Linked DNA regions of Homo sapiens: region 1 is linked to region 2. The links are contacts of gene promoters, found by promoter capture Hi-C in blood cells and fetal thymus (Javierre and others, 2016). All regions are on one chromosome and are shown on one strand. Each heading gives the region's core, a stretch centred on a gene start or on the middle of the fragment in contact. The rest is flanking DNA. Distances are from core to core; before and after follow the strand shown.

Region 1 (6,903 bases), core at 3,881-6,380, 1.3 Mb before region 2:
AGACAAAATATTAAAAACATTCATTTCATTTACCAACACCTGGGAATCTAGTAATGGTTTTGCCAGCGTTTCTCATACTTTAATGTGCATACATGTCACCTGGGACTCTTGTTAAAGTGCAGATTCTGATGTAGCTCGTCTGGAATGGACTTAGAGTCTGTATTTCCAACAAGTTCCCAGATGCTGCTGCTGCTGCTCCTCCAGGAATCGCCCTTTGAGCAGCAAGGGATCTACTGCTTGTCTTTACCTTTTGAGAGTATTGATGCTCCATCCTGAAAAGGGGCTCAAGGCTGTAAGACATGTACATGAGGGATTCTGAGCCACGTTCATTGTCTTTGTCCTACCGAGATTTAAATCCTGTTTAAAGGAACAAGAGGAAAAAACTTTAAGACATCAGATTTGGAAGAAAATTACCACAAAATCCTTCTAGCAGTATATGATCTAGAAACCTGGTCTGGTCAGCTTTGTTCAAACAACTAATTTTATACTAACATTTTTTTCCAGAGTGCAGACAGTACAGTTGATAAACAGTACATATAGAAAGAATAACATAAATTCTGATCCTGACAAGGCAGATTGTTTTCAAAGCCTGTACTTTCCAAAGCTGTGACAGAACATGACCTGGCAGTTGGTTCCTTTCCTGTTTGGGACACAGGTCCCACATCCTAGAAAATATCAGGAAGACGATTTCTGCAGGTCAAAGTGTTCATCTGAGAAATGCTGGCAGGTCCTCAAAGGGAGTCCCACAGAGGCCGAGGAGATGGGTGGGTCAGAGAGGGCTGTGGTGTGCATGACTGCAGCCCCGAGGTCATGTCTTCCAGCTGCACAGTCTGGGCAGGGCAGAGTGAGAAGGGCGAGGAGGCTCCCGGCTTTGCTGCCACTTGGCCCTCCTGCCTGACACTCTGCATTTGTTTCTAGTAAACGGAGCTGTGAGGCCGAGGTGCTGCAGCTGACACGTGCTTCCATGTTTCCCATAGTGGACCAGGAGCACCATTTCCAAGACAAATATTTATTCTATCGATTTCTGGATGATGAGCACGAGGATGCCCCTTTGCCTACTGAGGAGGAGAAGAAGGAGTGTGATGAGGAGCTCCAGGACACCATGCTGCTGCTGTCACAGATGGGCCCCGACGCCCACATGAGGATGATCCTTCGCAAACCGTGAGTGAGAGCTCGTGGCTCACCCCTCCAGGTCCCAAGGCCGCCTAGTGCATAGACATACCATGAGGAGAGACACAAGGCTGCTCTCAAAAGCCCTGGCCATCCCCCATGGAACAAAAGGGAGCAGCTGAAGGGTGCCACAGCAGTGCTTGTCTCTGTTATTTTAATTTTTGTGTTTGATCCAGATGGCTCCATTTTCCATTTGCATGAGTTAAAGCTGTAGAGGTTGTCAGTAGTTGGCTCCGGCTGTCAAAACTGAGTCCCCATATTAAATGACCTTTGGTCAATGACAAACAGAAACTGCTCTGTTTCTATGCCAGCCTGTGGCAGCACCTTTCTCCCTAATGCAACAGGACAGAGGTCATCAGGACCATAGCCTTCATGCCTAGGCCTGCATTCATTTGTTCCTTCACTCATTCAGCACATGCTCTTACCCACCTCTGAGGCTTCTGTTCTTCAGCTTAAAGCTCATTCTTCTGAGCACACCACAACTGCATTACCCCTGTCAAGGCCCCCATTGAGCCACTGAGGCAGTCTCTCCCTTCTGTCTCAGCTGAACCCACCTTACCTTCAGGAGCAGGCCACCACCTGCAATTGTGGACTCTGAAATGTTTAATCAGATCCACTCAGAAAGAATGTATTATTAAGCCCCCGTTTGATGCAGGGCACTCCACAAATTGCTATGGGGCATATAAAGAAGCATACATGTGGTCCTGATCCTCAGGGAAACCTTTTCAGTTAGCGGTGACTTGGCCCTTGCATCCGAAACCACCACACAGGCTTGTGTTTTTTGGCTGGAAATGAAGACGCCCTCTGCCCCACAGCCAGCGTCGGCCAGCTGTGGATGTCAGCTCTGAGTCATGTTTGGCCGACCTTGGTGTATTAGTCTTGTATTAGACAAGGGCATTACATGTTACATGTCCTGGATGTCTGCTGGGTGCTTTCCAAGAGTGAAGTGTCCCTCAGGCCAGCCTCCCCAGAGGCTGCCCCTCAGACCAACCCACAGTAGCCTCTCTGAAGGCACTTTAATTTCCCTTCCCCAGGATTCTTTGACTTGCCCTTACTCAGGGTTGTCCCCTTTGTCAAAACTTTCTCATGGGTCTGACTCTCCCACACCATGTGTTTCAAAGGCCTCCCCTCATCCCAGCAGATACCATCATCCTTAACTCTAGAACCACACTCTTCAGCTCTGTAAGCCTCAAAACCCTTTCTTCACATAAAAAGATGAACAGGAAAATCCAAAACATCAAACAAAGCTAGAGCTTCACTGACATAAGCAGGAGTGGGGTCCAAGAAACCTGCCCAGCCAATGTATGCTTTCTCTGCCCTGAAGGATCATAGGAGAGCATGGCTGAGGGGGCACAAGAGAATCCCTGGGGCCTGGGGAACTCAGATGAACACCACCATTTTAAGCCATGTTTTCTTTCTTGTCCCCTCTTGTCCCACTGTCCCTCCTGCATATTTCCTCATCATTTCCTGGGTCCATCCCCTTTTTGCTGTCCTCCTTGCTGCCACCTGCATCCAAGCCAACATATGCAGTGGTTCTGAATCAAGGTGGGACAGCCCCCTAAGGGCTGTTGTCAAAGCACAGGAGGGGGCCCACTGCTAGCACTCACTGGGCAGTGGCTAGGACCAAGGGCTGCCAAACACACTGCAGTACCTAGGAACCCAACACAATAAAGAGCTGTCCTGAGAACAATGCCCGTGTGGAGAAATATTGCAGTCAACCATGAGTTTCTTAAAGGCAAAGACAGATCTCATTTTACTACATTTGTTCATTTATTGAGTACCTACATTGTTCTAGATACTATGTTAGGTGCTAAGGCATTAAGGTAAACATTGAACAAGAAGGCTTCTCCTCCTTGGAGTTTTCTGTCTAGGGCAGAGGATTAAGCAACTACTTATGCAAGCAATCATTTAATCACAGCTGCATTACATGCTATGGAGGAAGATGTAGTGTGTGTTGGCACAGCCTAATGTGGAGGAGGGTTTAACCTGGTGTGGAACTTAGTAAGGCCGTATCCCTAGCTCTGTGCATTACACCACATAAGCCATCAGTAAACCTTTGCTGAGTGAGTGAATGAATGAATGAATGAATGGAAGTGTGAATACACAGTCCCAGCTAATGTTCCCTCAGCTCTTACTTGCTTCAAGGGAGGCAAAAATGCCATCTGATTCACAAATGTTTTTGAAATGGCTCCTGCCCTTGGGGAGTTTATAATTCAGTGGGAGAGGAATCCCCAAATTAGATTAAGATCCAACAATCATCAATTGAGTGCCTGCTGTATGCTAGGAACATTCATGCTAATTGTTTGATTTAGCCTTCTCAAGAGACATGAGAGCTTGTTTTCATGAGTCACCTTGGGAGAAATGGGAGTCGCTGCTTGTGCTTCCTTTTATTGTCCATACACCATTGAATCGCATGATCCCTGGCAGCCCAGATTCTTCACAGAATATTACATTCCAAAACTGACACTCTTCCATTATATCGCTAGTTGTTAAAGTACAGGTTTTACAAATATTCCAAGATACATGATTTCAGGTGGCCTTGGGATTTTCCCATCTTCTTAGGTTTTTCGAAACTTTGCAAACGTTGGAATTGGGCTGGCACTTCTGGAACTCTTCAGTTTTCTTTCTGCTGAAATAACAGCTCCCGAGAGATGGGAAAGTGAAAAATAAGGAATCTAATTTTGGGAGACAGATATTCCAACTCTACATGTACATACACACACACACCCTTTTTTTTTTTTTTTGATCTGCTAATAATCTTTGGAGCTACTACTTTATTTAAGTGGAAAGAAAACAAGCTTAGTTGATCAAGAATTGCCAGTATCACTACTGTCCTTGAAGGGACCAACCAAGCACTTCACTCCTGGAAACTGAGGGCATGTTCAGAGGTCCTGGAAATGTTGACTTTCTACTGCCGAAAGTGCTAAGTCATTAAGAAATGTGGAGGCATGAGATGCATTGGCTTCATACTGACCAGGGCAGGACCCCCAACTTTTAAACTCAGCACGGCTGCATTTTATAATAGTCACCACTGCCAGAGAGGTTGCAGAACTCTGATAATTACTGGGAAAGAAATAACACAATATTCTTTGATGAGAAGATTACTTTGAGAATTTGATTGTATAATGAAGATGTTGCTTTGAAAGGTACTTCCTATTGTTCTGAATCTGAGACTTGCTAGCAAAAAAAAAAAGTGTCACTTGTTTTGACAGGCTACTTAGAAAAATTCTCTGTTTATTACATTAACTGCAGCATTTTAACTGTCAAACTATGAAAGAATGTTCTGTAGTTTAAAAAACAGAATAGAGCTTCAGGGGAAATTTTTTGGCACACTCTTGTTGCTATTGGTATTGAAAAAAAACACATACATTCTGCATGTGAAATTAGCTTTTTATGTGGTGGCAGACAGAGTGACTCACAATGCCCGTCCTGGTTTCGCAGGTGCAGACCTGGATGGCATTTGGGGGCAAGTGCTACAGAACGATGACAGTTTGACGGTGCTGTTGTTGTAGCTCTGAGACAGGGCCATCAAACACTGAATGAGCTCTCCAAGCTTATTGTTTTGATTTTGCTTTGTTTATAAATCTAAAAACAAGAGGTTGCCCTATAGCAAGTAGATATAATGGGTACTCTTACCAGTAGAAATGTGCATTTTGGCTTTCTTTGAGCAGGTACTTTGGTTAGAGAAATATGAGTAAAAGGATCTGGAGTGACTAGGTAAACAGAGTATTGTAAACTTGAGGCCAACTGTGGATAAAAAAGAGGCTTCAAGGAGACAGGACGCTCTGCTGTACAAGCCTTCCAACCACTCCTTCCAAGTAAAGTGAGACATAGGTTCCAATGTTCAGGATGGTCTATCAGAGACCAGCCTAAAGTTGGGAGGACAGTTAAGTAGACACTGTTTCCCAAATCAAAATTTAGGTCTGCAGTTCTGAAAATGCCTAACAGTAGAAGCCTAAGTAAGTTGAGAAAGAGAAAAGTCATTTGGGCCCGAGCAGAGAGAAATATATGTATATATAAGAGAATTGTTAGAAGTTGGGGAATCTTCCAACTGGGTCAGAAACACACAAACTTGAGTTCGTTTATTTTATGTGATAAATTAATATTTCAGTTGCCCTTGGGATTTTTCCCATCTCCCTAGGTTTTTTGAAACTTTTTAAACATTGGAATTGGGCTGGCAGTTTCTTCTTTTGACTCTTTCTGCTGGAATAAGAGCTCTGAGAGATGGGAAAGTGAAAAGTAAGGAATCTAATTTTAGGAGACAGACAGTCCAACTCTACATGCACGTACACACATACCCCATTTTTTTTTTGATCTGCTAATAATCTTTGGAGTTACTATTTAATTTTACTTAAACGGAAAGAAAACAAGCTTCGTTGGTCAAGAATTGCCAGTATCATTGTTGTCTTGAAGAGACCATCTGAACACACCTTGCTCCTGAAAACTGAGAGCATGTTCAAAGGTCCTGGAAATGGTTTTTTTGTTTGTTTTCTTATTGCCCATACTCTGCTAAGGCATTAAGAAATATGGAAACGTGAGATATATTGGCTTCATATCAAACATATGCTATAGGGCGTAAAGTTGAAAGGCAACAATTTAAGATGGATTAAATGACATAAAGGCAAAATACTGTGGGCGGGGGTGGGGAGGGTATTGTTTATCCCTTAATTGGCTGCCCTAATGCAAGGCTGTCCTGCAGAGGCTGGGTGGAGACTACCCTGCTGCTGTTCGATTCCACACACTTGCTCTAGAGGGCGCGTGAGAGCCTGTGTATTGTGTCTTAATTAGCAGTGCCTGTTTTAATAGGATCTTTATTTGTCTAAACTCTTTTCCAGGGTGTGGAATTTAAAATCCTGGTAATTATAGAGGGATTTGTTTCTTCGGGGGATTCCAGATTAGCAAGCCTAAAATTGGTGGTGGTTAGGGTTTTGATTTCTGCTGGGATGTGTCAAGAGAATGTCCACAGTTACGAAGTTCATCTCAAATGTTAATCAGATGAGAAGAAAAGCACGACCGAAAGAACCTAGGCTTCTGAAGTAAGACAGTCACGGCGAATCCTTCCTTCACTGCATGGTGACCTTCACCTTGGTCTTTACTGGAAAGATTTTGGCGTCACAAGTGAAAGCTTGTAGAATTTACCTGAATAAATGATTGCATTAAGTAGGTCATTTCTCTGCCTCTCCCCATGAAAGCAATTTATTCTTATTCCTCATATCCACATGGCCTGAAACCAGCCATTGGATTGCTACCTTTATGATTAAGATTCAGGAGAGGGGAGGATGAACTTAGCTGCTCATCTACAGTTTAGAGTTTATTATAAGATTGCCTCAAGGTTTTAATGACTTTTTATTGCTAAAGTCGATCTCTTTATTGGAGAAAATTTGGAAACCACTGACAAGAGTTAAAAAAGAAGAAAAAATACCTGCAATCACATGTCTCAGTTAATTACTGTTAACATTTTGGTGCCTATCCCTTTAGTTATTTTTTAATTCCTAACTTTTTACACTTAATAACATATCACAGCATTCTCTCTTAAAGTTAAATATCCTTTAAGGATGGAGCTTTTAAATAGGTGTGTTCTCTGAATGTTCTTTAATGCATTCAGTTTGTGATCGTTGGATGTTTAGGTTGTTTTTCAAGCCCCTTTTTTTTTCTTTTTTTTTTTTTTTCTTTTTTTGAGACAGGGTCCCACTCTGTCACCCAGGCTGGAGTGCAGTGGGGTGATCTCAGTTC
Region 2 (6,514 bases), core at 2,260-4,759:
CACTTAATATGGCCCATTTTAATATAGTCCCATTTAAAATCAAGTTGTAGTAACTGCAACAATTCTAGAATGAGAAGTATGTCAATATCTCAAAACTTAACTTCCTTACTAGTGCAATAAAGCTCACAACATAAATAATGATCATAGCTTGCTTTCACGTTTATTGATAGCACCCTACAGTATTTTGATTAATTATTTGTTTTGCTTACATTTCAACTCTCTACTTAGTCTTACTCTGCAAGCAGACTATATCACAGCAGGAAACCCCTTCAAAATGAAAACCTCTTCAAGCTCCAGGAAAGACTGAAATCAGGACAGCCACACTTGCTCATGTTTTACATTACATGAATTTAAGACATGCCTCACTTGGTCACGCCATGCTCTGTTCATTGAGGAATCTCTATGACAGGAGCTCCTCGGAATACCTAAGAACATGATTGTCCTACTTGCCACCAATCTAAAAGGCCACCCTTGATCACTTTCACAAATCCACACTGAATCTGCTACCTATTAGTACACCCTAATCACTTTTGAGATGTTTTATATTTTAAGGTTAGTGAAAGGATAAATAATGAAAAAGGAACACTTGGACCCAGTGCAGTGGCTCACACCTGTAATCCCAGCACTTTGGGAAGCCAAGGCAGGCAGATCACCTGAGGTCAGGAGTTCAACACCAGCCTGGCCAACATGGTAAAACCCCGTCTCTACTAAAAATAGAAAAATTAGCCGGGCGTGGTGGCACATGCCTGTAATCCCAGCTACCCGGGAGGCAGAGGCAGGATAATTGCTGGAACCTGGGAGGCAGAGGCTGCAGTGAGCTGAGATCACGTCACTGCACTCCAGCCTGGGCAAAAGAGCAAGACTCCATCTCAAAAAAAAAGAAGACTTTGAACACTTAAGTTGCGTGTGTATAGAGTTATGATAAACCCCACATATATTTCCTATCACTCTCTTATTTGCATATATTCAATTCACTGTAACTTTGAAAACATTACAGCTGGGCTCAGTGGCTCATGCCTGTAATCCCAGCACTATAAGAGGCTGAGGCAGGTGGATCATATGAGGTCAGGGGTTCAAGACCAGCCTGGCCAACATGGTGAAACCCCGTCTCTACTAAAAATACAAAAATTAGCTGGGCGTGGTGGTGCGCGCCTGTAATCCCAGCTACTCAGGAAGCTGAGACAGGAGAATCACTTGAACCCGGGAGGCAGAGGTTGCAGTGAGTCAAGATCATGCCACTGCATTCCAGCCTGGGCGACAGAGTGAGACTCCATCTCAAAAAAAAAAAAGAAAAAGAAAAGAAAATATTACAAAACTCAAATTTCTGCTCTCAGAACTTTCAGATTTAGACTCTTTATAACAGCAAACCTTTTACGATTTCCACTACGAAATTCAAAACTGTCACCTCCTTCTCCATCAAGCTTATTATGGTGGAGCTTTCAAATCAATTTCCTAAAGTAGCCTACTGCATGGCCTCTGGTAGACAGCCTATGTAGGTACCACACATAGCCAACCAGCACTGAAATCAATAAAATACATCTAAACTAAAGCCTAATTTTGCAATATTAATAGTCCAGCTTCCTGGCCTCTTTTCTTCAACTTAAAGTTTAATTACCTCACGGTTCCCATTTCTACAATAGGACCCAAAATATTTACAAAATGAAAATCACAAAAGCCCCAACGTTCACCTACCCAACATTTGGCAATCCAACAATACCAATTTTCAGTGAGGTTCCAAATCTTCCAATGATTGGGGGTGGTTTAATTCCATCACCTCCCTTTTTAGGGGGCATCTGAAATACCAAAGCAAACATATGAACAAAACTTTTTACTATCCACATGGACCCAAAACACATTTCATCACATACAATATATTATTGAATTAAGATTAAGAACAAAACATACTGTATATAGCGATCCAAAACTAACACAGAGCTAAATCCACTTTTTTTTCAGCAAAAATGTTTAAAAAGTTCTGTAAACATATCCGTTGTCAAAAGAGTCATTGCTGAGAAGTCCCAGAAAGACTGATCTAAAATCAATATTTGTTGGGCCGGGCACGGTGGCTCAGGCCTGTAATCCCAGCACTTTGGGAGGGGGAGGCCGAGGTGGGCAGACTGCTTGAGACCAGGAGTCGAGACCAGCCTGGCCAACACGGAGAAACCCCGTCTCTACTAAAAAGAAAAACAAATACAAAAAAATTAGCCGGCCATCAGGCGCGCAGCCTGTAATTCCAGCTACTCGGGAGGCTGAGGCTCGAGAACTGCTTGAACTCGGGAGGCGAAGGTTGCGGTGCGCCAAGATCACGCCACTGGGCTCTGCCTGAGCGACAAAGCTAGGCTCTGTCTTAAATAAATAAATAAATAAATAAAATATTTGTGGCACCAGGAATCAAAGATAAACTTAGAGTTTAGCTACCAATCTTCCATCCAGACTGCTCACAAAACACTTTATATCTTAACCTGATATATGGTTATATGAAAGAAAGCATTTGGAAGCAAGTACACAGAAGACAGTCAAAGAAAATTCCATTGTGGAACCACCAGCAGCCAAGTCACCCTTCACACCAAACCATTCCTCTATAATCTGGAATCTTATCTTTCCCATTCGCCCACAACCCCCATTTTTCACATAGATGAACACCCACCAGGTACTGGGGTCCTTCCACCAAGTCCCTCCCACCTTTGGCACTGAAGGTACGGCTCATCAGTCCTCATAAGCAACCTCCAAAATCTACATTATGGTTACTATTTCTAATGGTAAATTAATCGACGGAACCTTTTTATTTACAAGTCGAAACTTTCTCTGTCCCTTACTAGTTCTGTCTCCAAATCATGCGTGCAGAATTACTCCCACCCTTGGACTGCAAAGTGAAATCACAAAGACCGCTAAGCTCACGTCTCAGAAGCTGGGAACTAAAACTGTCCCAGTCTTCTGGCTGAGAGTTGTACCTCCTAGGACCACGCTGGGGCCCTGCCCTTGCAGTAGTATTCCAGCCTCTGATCCCTGACCCCGAGGGCCAGGAATTTCCCTTCTCAGCGTCCTGACACCTGTTCCTGGCCAACTCCCAGGCCTCCAAAGAACAGATACAGGAACAGCGCCTGTCGGGTCCTCTGGCCTACAGAGAGGTGGCCGGCAGCCCACCCAAAGTGGGCCCCACCCCCCATCCTCCTCTCCGGACTGGGCCACCGGGCGTCCTGGCGTCGGGAGAAGGCTTTCCCCAGGGCTTTCCCGCGTGAGGCGTAGGCCGATCTCCCGACGCGCGGCCTAGTCCGACAGCGCCTCATTCATCCACACATCCCCAAGCCACCCGCTGCCCTGGCCCCATCTTGGCCACTGGGCCCGGGCCCCGCGCCAGCCTCAGGGCAATGAGCCCAGGCGCCGAAGACCTGGCGGAGATCGCGCCCCCGGGCTCCCTGAGGGCCTCACCGTGCTCGGCCTGGGCGATGACACGGGGTCCCAGCGGCAGCGAGAGAAAGGTCCTGCCGGCAGCTGGAGGCGGGGAGGAAGGAGGAGAGAACGCAGGCCCGTCCCCTCCGCCGAGCGGCACGCACGACGGCGGCGACAGCGGCGGAACGGGCGGGCCGGGCGCCGAGCGGCACCTGCGCGCAGACCATGGGCCCCGCCCCTCCCCGCCTTGCCCGCGCGTCCCGCCCATTGGCCTAACCGGCCGGGGAGGCGGGAGTAGGGCGGGAGGAGCCCAGGGTGGGAGGAGCCGCGCGGCGGCAGGGAGCTGGAGAGGGGAAGGCGCTGGCTAGGCCGTTCCCGGGAGCTCTAGTCTTCCGCTTCGGCACGTGGGCTTCTCGGTTCTAGGTCTCCGCTTCCGTCTGGCTGCGCGGCCTGGGTTACCTGCTCACGTTCACTCGCGGGCCTACAGCCCCAAGCTTTCCCAGCTGGACTGCGGAGTGCCTTGGGCCCTGACTTCCCTCCGGGAGATCCGGGGCGTCTGAAGTCAGGCAAACAGCCACACCAGCCCCGAGGACCGCGTGGCCGCTAGCCCATCTCCCTTTTCTATAACTTTATTCGCTCAGTCTGTGCGGAGAGAAGCTGTTAACTAAAAGTTCTTGAAGGAAAAGGGGCTAAGGGAAACTTTGGTCTAGGGATTTCTTCCTCGCCTTATAGTTAAAGCGTCGCACACAGGTACTGGATCACAGAATGCGTTTAATTGAGCCAATTTCCCCCCTTTTCCTCTTGGTAGTTGAGAGCAGGGGCCTTTGAAATTTGGGAATTTCCAATCTGGATTTCGCCACTCATTGACTGTATGACCCTAGACAAATTAACTTCTCTGGACTTCAATTTCGTTCTGGATAAAATGAGGCTATTAAAACCACCTTATGAGGTTATTCGTGTGAGAATAAAATGAGACAATGCGTGTTGAGCTCATAACAACAGTACTCAGCACATACAGAAAAGGCTTGTGAGTAGTCGCTGTTGTTAATATTAGGATTTCATCCCATCTCACCCACATCATATCAATACCATGAGCGCCACTGGAGAAGGAATTCTTTCATTTAGGTCCTGGCCTTCAGATGTCATTCAGGTATTTGTTGTAATGAATATGATACCTGTCCAAAAATTGTGACACTAGAAGCTCCTTTTAAAGGGATTAGTTGCTATTAATATTAAAGGATGTAAATAGGTCGCCATCCCCATTTTACAAGTGAGGAAACAATATCAGAAAGGTTGATTAATTTGGATGAAGTCACACAACTAGTAAATGGCAGCAGCATATTTCAAACCACAATCTAACTGAAAATCTGGCCGTAATCCCAGCACTTTGGGAGGCCAAGATAGGGGGATCAGTTGAGCCTAGGAGTTGGAGAACAGCCTGGACAACGTGGTGAGACCCCATCTCTACCAAAAAACAAAAATTAGCTGGGTGTAGTGGCACATACCTGTAGTCCCAGCTACTCAGGAGGCTGAGGTGAGAGGATGGCTTGAGCCTGAGAGCTCAAGGTTGCAGTGAGCTATGATCACTGCCGCAGCACTCTAGCCTGGGTGTAGAGCAAGACCTTATCTCTAACAAAATAAATACAAATAAAAAGTAAAACTAAAACTATCTGAAAAATCTGTTTCCTTTCAGCGAGAATTCATTTTTATTTTTTGAGATGGAGTCTCACTCTGTCGCCCAGGCTGGAGTGCAGTGGCGTGATCTGGGCTCACGGCAACCTCCGCCTCCCGAGTTCAAGCAATTCTCCTGCCTTAGCCTCCTAAGTAGCTGGAATTACAGGTGCACACCACCACACCCAGCTAATTTTTGTATTTTTAGTAGAGACGGGGTTTCACCATGTTGGTCAGGCTGGTCTCGAATTCCCGACCTTGTGATCCACCCACCTCGGCCTCCCAAAGTGCTGTGATTACAGGCGTGAGCCACCGCACCCAGACGAGAATTCATTCAAATAGAGACTCCCTATAAGCTCTGAGCCAGTATTCATAATAAAATTGCATTAAGGCTTTTCCTTAGCCCTGTAACAGTGCTCTAGTGAGGTGAGTTAAAGAGCTTTCTCTACAATTTTGGAAATTCTCAAGGACACAGGCAACTTGATTTGGTTTTGTATTACTTTTTCTTAATATTATATATTAATGTGCCCTATTTATATTCTTGGTCTAGTACCCTTGTCACCAAAACTATATATGTATAAAACAGCTATCTTGGTGCACTTTAACTATGAAAAAGAGGGCTAACTAGCCCAAATTTTGTGGCCACTGTGAAAATAACTCTCAGGAACAGCCCTTCAAAGTGATTCCTGAATCATGTACTGATATTTTAGTAATGAAGCTCTATAGTGGATTCACACTGCTGCTTGTGGAAATAGAGAGGAACCATTACTTAAAAAGCTTGCCGGGTGCGGTGGCTCACGCTTGTAATCCCAGCACTTTGGGAGGCCGAGGCGGGCGGATCACGAGGTCAGGAGATCAAGACCCTGGGGAAACCCCGTCTCTACTAAAAATACAAAAAATTAGCCGGGCGTGGTTGCGGGCAGCTGTAGTTCCTGCTACTCGGAGAAGCTGAGGCAGGAGAATGGCATGAACCCGGGAGGCGCAGCTTGCAGTGAGCCGAGATTGCGCCACTGCACTCCAGCCTGGGCAACAGAGCGAGACACCGTCTCAAAAAAAAAAAAAAAAAAAAGCTCAAGAGGCCAGGTCTGGTGGCTCACACCTGTAATTCCAGCACTCTGGGAGGCCAAGGCAGGCAGATCACCTGAGGCCAGGAGTTCAAGACCAGCCTGGCCAATATGATGAAACCCCGTCTCAACTTAAAATACAAAAATGAGCTGAGTGTGATGGCGGGTACCTGTAATCTCAGCTACTCGGGAGGCTGAGGCAGGAGAATCGCTTGAACGTGGGAGGCGGGGGCTGTAGTGAGCCAAGATCACACCACTGCACCCCAGCCCGAGCAATAGAGCAAGACTCCATCTCAAAAAAAAAAAAAAAAAAAAAAACTCAAGAATCCCAGAGAGCCCTCTCTGCCCAGCAACCAGCCACTCCAATACTGATTGAAAATGTTCCCCGG

The links. Contacts are between HindIII fragments. The CHiCAGO score rates a contact against its expected background, and 5 or more counts as called.
Region 1: a contact is called between a fragment that was not itself captured here and the fragment with the promoter of OLA1 in region 2, in 1 of 17 cell types (fetal thymus). The highest score is 7.9, in fetal thymus.

Annotation. Positions count from the first base shown.
Region 1 is chr2:172,966,284-172,973,186 of GRCh38, forward strand. RAPGEF4 (Rap guanine nucleotide exchange factor 4) reads left to right here. Exons shown (of 31, transcript NM_007023.4): 10 at 978-1,161. Among named protein-coding and RNA genes, the nearest start is that of MAP3K20, 110 kb to the right of the region's middle. The HindIII fragment of the contact is 818 bases long and covers 4,722-5,539 here.
Region 2 is chr2:174,245,023-174,251,536 of GRCh38, forward strand. OLA1 (Obg like ATPase 1) reads right to left here and starts at 3,510. Exons shown (of 11, transcript NM_013341.5): 1 at 3,430-3,510; 2 at 1,693-1,793. The coding sequence starts at 1,793. RefSeq lists a silencer at 3,296-3,815. The HindIII fragment of the contact is 2,463 bases long and covers 1,420-3,882 here.